2 separate regions of the Homo sapiens genome follow, and region 1 is linked to region 2. The links are contacts of gene promoters, found by promoter capture Hi-C in blood cells and fetal thymus (Javierre and others, 2016). All regions are on one chromosome and are shown on one strand. Each heading gives the region's core, a stretch centred on a gene start or on the middle of the fragment in contact. The rest is flanking DNA. Distances are from core to core; before and after follow the strand shown. Region 1 overlaps IL18RAP (interleukin 18 receptor accessory protein). Region 2 holds the start of IL1RL1 (interleukin 1 receptor like 1).

Evidence for each region. Contacts are between HindIII fragments. The CHiCAGO score rates a contact against its expected background, and 5 or more counts as called.
Region 1: a fragment that was not itself captured here is called in contact with the fragment with the promoter of IL1RL1 in region 2 in 1 of 17 cell types (total CD8 T cells); the score reaches 5.0 in total CD8 T cells.

The regions. Positions count from the first base shown.
Region 1 is chr2:102,439,032-102,442,095 of GRCh38, reverse strand. It overlaps IL18RAP (interleukin 18 receptor accessory protein), which reads right to left. Exons shown (of 10, transcript NM_001393487.1): 5 at 719-784. Among named protein-coding and RNA genes, the nearest start is that of MIR4772, 8.3 kb to the right of the region's middle. The HindIII fragment of the contact is 1,621 bases long and covers 951-2,571 here.
Region 2 is chr2:102,310,154-102,313,237 of GRCh38, reverse strand. IL1RL1 (interleukin 1 receptor like 1) reads right to left here and starts at 1,675. Exons shown (of 11, transcript NM_016232.5): 1 at 1,615-1,675. The HindIII fragment of the contact is 5,145 bases long and covers 374-3,084 here.

The DNA of each region.
Region 1 (3,064 bases), core at 512-3,011, 130 kb before region 2:
ATGCCAGATTAAATGTCATATTCATAAGAGTTAATGTTACTCAGGTTGGCGAATTTGTAGTCATAACTGATAGACCTAACCAACATGTACGAAACCACCTGTTCCTGGGGAAGTTAAGGAAGAATAAAATCTATTGATCAGGTTTCATGCTCCAGCCACTTAACATACATTGTCCCATTATTTCTCAGTATAATTTTTTTTTTTCTTTGAGATGGAATCTTGCTCTGCCACCCAGGATGGAGTGCAATGGCTCGATCTCGGCTCACTGTAACCTCCGCCTCCCAGGTTCAGGTGATTCTCCTGCCTTGTCATCCTGAGTAGCTGGGATTACAGGCACCCACACCCACGCCCGGCTAATTTTTGTAGTTTTAGTAGAGATGGGGTTTCACCATGTTGGCCAGGCTGGTCTCAAACTCCTGACCTCAAGTGATCTACCCACCTCAGCCTCCCAAAGTGCTGGGATTACAGGCATAAGCCACCATGCCCGGCCTGCAATATAATCTTTTAGGGTCAGTTTTATGATAGCTATTTGCGGATTTAAGTACTGAGGCTTAAAGGATGAAGTAACTGTGCAAAGTCACAAAACTAGTCAATGGCTGAGTTAAGATTCACACCCAATTCTGTTTGACTGGAAATCCCAATGCTGTTTTCCTTCTATCACACTTAGACCTGCTCCCAGCAGCACGATGTCATTCAAAGGCGATGAGGCCCAGCTTACCAAGTTCTACTTCCAGTGTGTCCTCGACAGGATCCAGAATATCTGGTTTGAGTTTAGTGTCTCCCACTGAAAGATGAAAACAAAGATTACTATTTGCATTGGAAAGTCTGAAGGCCTGCTTGATGAAGATTTAGGTGCACAGCCACACTTTGATCTAAATGTCTTGGAGCTCTGTCTTCACATTTTACTAATTACCTGTAAGTTAGGAATTCCGGTTTCCATGTAAAAAGCTTGCCCCCTAAAATGACTGCCACATCAGGTTGTGGGTGCTGGTAAAACATTAGTTGTTAATTGATCCATATCTGCTTGTGTGCATTCTCTTTCACACTAATCCTGCCCCTTGCAGACCTGAGCTCCTATCCCTGTCTTTTCCCACAAGATTTCTTTGTGGTGCCATCTGGCTGAGTAATTGAACTGAAAGGAGAATCCACCCAAGAAACTGTGCAAGTCAAGCATATCCGAGTCCACCCCTCCATCCTTAAACTCATGGTTTATTTCAAAATAAAGAAGAGTCCAGTCCTTAATTAACAATTTTATCCATCAACTTCTTGCCACAAATATGCCTCCACTGTCAAATATGCCTCCACTGTCAAACTTCCTCCTGAAGGTGTGTCTTTTTCTGGATAAAGAAAAATCCAGGGTCTTTGCTGTTGACATCACCTACTTTTACTTCTCAGAGACCTCCTTCTCCCCTTTGCACCATCTCAGTCCTGTATTTTTAACTTGTCTCTCTCTCCCTCTCTCTCTCTCGCTTTCTCTGGGCTTCTTCTCATCAACATTTATTCATGCTCAGTCTCATCATCCTAAAAAAGAGAAAACACACCCTGCCTTATATCCCAGCCTCACTTATTCTCCTTCCTTCCCAGCCAAATTCTTGAAAGGCAGTTCTATGTGCTAATTCCCTCCATCCTTTCACCTCCTATGGAACCTGATTTCCGCCGCCATCTGTCCACTAAAACTGCTTAACCAAATTCACCAGTGCCACCTATGCACCTAAATCCATTGGGCATAATCACATTTTTCGTCTACTTTACCTCTTAGCAGCATTGGACACTGTTGGCCATGCTCTCTTTGAAACCCTCTCTTCTTTTGGTTCCATGTTCCCGTACTCTACTGCTTACTTTCAACCGCTATATTCACTTCTCTGTGCCTGTCCCTTCCTCTGTGTCTCTTTTAACTATTAGTCCTCTCCTAGTGTTCTTTCACTCCTCCTGATACCCCTGGGTAGTAAGTTTACTCTCTAGGCCTCTTCCCTATGAAAGGTCTTGGTGCCTGAGGTTATGTCTTTCCTACATCATCAATTTCACTTCGTTTGTTTCTCTTCTCACCACCCTTCCACTGATATTCACTTGCTGATGTATGTTCCCATCCTCTTTGAGGATTGTCTTCCTCTTCTCCACCTCTTCAAGCATTTCCGGGTTTGGCTCTAGCCCCTTCTGTCTCTATGCCCACTTCCTAGGTGATCTCATTCAGCTCTTTGGCTTCAGATATTATGTAAAAATCGATCATCTTCACATTCACATCTCCAGCCCTAACTTCTCCAGACTGGCTTGTCCAAATACCTACTTGTCGTCATGACTTGGATGACTAAAAGTCCTTTTAAGCCTAATACTTAATCTCCTCTTCAAATGCTCTTTCCCTTCAGCTTTTTCAGTCTCCTTAAATGGTACCACCATTCACTAACTTATCCAGGGCAGAAAACAAAAAACATCCTTGATTCTTCTCTTTCTCCTACCTTTTATGTAAAAACCATTATCATGCTCTGTTGACCTACAAGTCCAGCTACTTCTCATCACCTCTGCTAGGTCTATTTACAGCACAAGCAGAGGCATGGTTTAACCATGAGTCAAGCTTGCTGCTCCACGACTGTGCCTGCTCTCATCCTCTGTACTGTTGTGCTCTGTCAGCACATTCCCTCCTTGACCAGCTCAAAGGCTGGCTTGTATCCATGGCTCCTGCTTTCCCTCTTCCTTGCTCCCGAACACCAAATCCTTTAAATGTACCTCTTAAACATTTCCAAAGTCATCCACTTCTCTCCATTCCCTCTACCACTCCCTAGTTCAGATCCCTATCAGCAACTGCCTGCTTGACCACAGAACTTCCTAACTCTTCTCCCTGCCTCCATTCCTGCTCTTACAAACCCACTTCCGACCCAGCAAACAAGGTGATCTATCTTGAATACAAATTCAGTCACGACATTCTCCCACTTAAAATCCTCAATGCCTCCCCATTGTTCCTTCATAAATTTTAACACGTATTAGATAATTAGGTAATTAGATAATTTTAACACGTATTAGAAGAGTGTGATGTCAGTCCTACTCCCAGATGCTCTTCTTCATCTCCTGG
Region 2 (3,084 bases), core at 426-2,925:
ACACCCATTTAACCTTCAGAAACCACCCTCTAAACATGATATTATTACTAATATGCTGGTCACCTCTTTGTAAGCAAGAAACTCAAGATTTAAAGACATAGATGAGTTGCTTAAGGTCATGCAACAAGTAAGTGTAAGAGCAGGGATTAAATGCAGATCTGCATTAGTCCAGAGCTTTCTGTCTCCAAACCTCTGCATGGAATAGCCAAAATTAGATGATTATGTCCACAATGGTATTCAGGAACAATGGCATGTGAATAGTTTGGCCTCAGGATCTAGTAGGAGAACTGTTATAGCCAGACAGAAACATGCCTCCGATTTCCTTATGCCTGGAAGAAATTAAAGGAAAAACTGACATTCAGTGGATAAAGCTTTGGGGGCCAGTTCTGCTATGTTTACCTCTGCACCCTCTGTTGAAGTAGCCTTCAGAGAGAAGAAGAATGGAGCCACCAAGCAGAGGATCAAAGCAGGCACCCGCAACAAACTTGAACTTACATCAGTCATTCACTCCCCACCCCTCCAGAAACAATGGCCCTCACTCAAGAGGGCCTTCTCATATCCTCATATCCACCCCTCTCATGTCCGTTCTCTATTTTCTTCTTGCAGATGGGTATGACCCTGCTTCCTCACCCCTTTTGGCCAGCAGCTTCTTGCTTCATTTGTTTTGTTTTTTTCCTTCATCTCCATCTGAGTAGATTACACTGCTGGATTTTGTGGATTTCAGAAAGAATAACTCCAGAATATGAGCACTCTGTGTGTATACTATAAAGCTCCCATCCTTTCTTACCCTCAACCAGGTCTTTTCCAACACGTTGGACCAAAGTCCCATATTACACAAACAAGATTTCAAGGGATTTCATCAATCTGTACCATGATTTTCCCATTGGTAATACTACTTTTCTCACAAGCAAAATTGATAACAATGATTATTATTGTTATAATGTTATATATATTACATTATATATTATATTATAGGCCCTTCATTTGCATAAGGCACCAAAACACAATTAAACTCCTTTAAATTTAATTCAGCTAAAGTTTTTCTTTTAACAGAAGATTGTTTGGAAAGCTAAGTCTTCCCTCTGTCATTGAGTGAATGTTTTCCTCAATATAAATATAATATTATATATATTATATTTAATATATAATAATGTTATAACATTATAACAATAATGTTATATATATTATATATATAATATTTAATATATAATATATATTATATATAATATATATAAATATATTATATATAATATATATTATATATAATATTATATATAATATATATTATATATAATATTATATATAATATATATTATATAATAAAATATATAACATATATGATATATTATATATTATATTATATAATATATATTATATAATTATATTATATATTACAATTATATAATATATATTATATAATTGTATTATATATAATATATAATTGTTATAATGTTATAACAATTATATATTATATATATTATATATTATTATAACATATAATGTTATAATAATATAACAATGAATATTATTGTTATAATGACCTAAATTCGTATGTGAAAATTTTGTTCCCTTTGAGATAAAAGTATTTTTGAAAAATACCCCAAAGCCACTTACCCTCATTGGGTTGTACTTGAGTTCTTTCTTCCTCAACTTTCTGCCCACAGTTTCACAACTCAGAAAGCCAATTTCTCTTACAGCTTTATAGCTTTACTAAATACAACAGCCAGCCTCTCTTTAAAAACCTCCCATTTTCTTTATCAGTTAAGAGACAGGAACCAGGTTACTGATAAGCTGAACCCGATGATCACACTGTTAACAAATGTTAACTGCAGTTTTCACCACATTCTCCCTATTTGAAAGATCTTTAATGAAGTTCTATTTCCAATTTTTACCTTATCTCTATAGATAGTTACATTTTGTCTTAACTATATTTTGCCTTCTTCATGAGTGACTTTCTCAGCAAAACCTCCCTAACACCATGTAGGTGGCAGGTCACTCATTTCCCTTAACGCGAGTTGGTAGTTGTAACTTCCCTATAGTCACATTTCTAGAACAAGAGTACCCATTTCTGCAGCAAGTTGCTTATTTGGTGTTTCTTTCTTTTTTTTTTTTTTTTTTTTTTGAGGCAAAGCCTCACTGTGTCACCCAGGCTGGAGTGCAGTGGCACAATATCAGCTCACTCTGCAGCAAGTTTTGTAACTGATGCCTCGTTGGCAATGTTTTTGAAAACTTTGACACATCTCGTGTGCTTAAGTGTACACCAGGCTCTGTGTGCAGTAATTTGGTATGTGCTATCCCACGCAATCCTCAGAAGCTGACAGGAGCTTCAGAGAGGAGAATTACCTTACCCAAGGTAGCAGCCAGTACAAGGGAAATCCAGGATCCAAAGTGTCTATACCTGGGCTTTTTCCACATGCCCGAGATGGCCTATCTCAGGTGGTTGTAATAGAGATTTATGGACATGTGCTGCAATTATTAGAATTCTGGATAAACTAACCTTAATTATCTATGCAATTTCTAAAAATATTGGTGACTTTCAAATAATCAGGATGTGCCATCTGCCAGAGTCTTCCCTAATATAATAGAGCATGAGATTTAGGGAGAGCACAGCCTAGTTTTCCTCTTCCCAGCTGCTTGACTTTGGGCAAATTCTCTAACCTCTCTCTCGTGTGAAGGGTATTGTTGTCAATATTAAATCAGTAACCTATGGAGGATGCTATCCATATTGATGAAATACTAGTGATTTTCTGCTCTATCATATACCCATCCTATCACACCCAGCACAATTGTGTTTAAAATAAAAACAAACCTTCTGGCAGGGCATGGTAGCTCACGCCTGTAATCCCAACATCCTGGCCAACATGGTGAAACCCCGTCTCTACTAAAATACAAAAATTTGCTGCGTGTGATGGTGCACACCTCTAATCCAAGCTACTCAGGAGGCTGAGGCACGAGAATTGCTTGAACCCGGGAGTCAAAGGTTGCAGTGAGCCAAGACTGCACCACGGTGCTCCAGCCTTGGTGACACAGCGAAACTCTGTCTCAAAAACAAACAAACAAACAAAAAAACCCTTCAAAATGTAT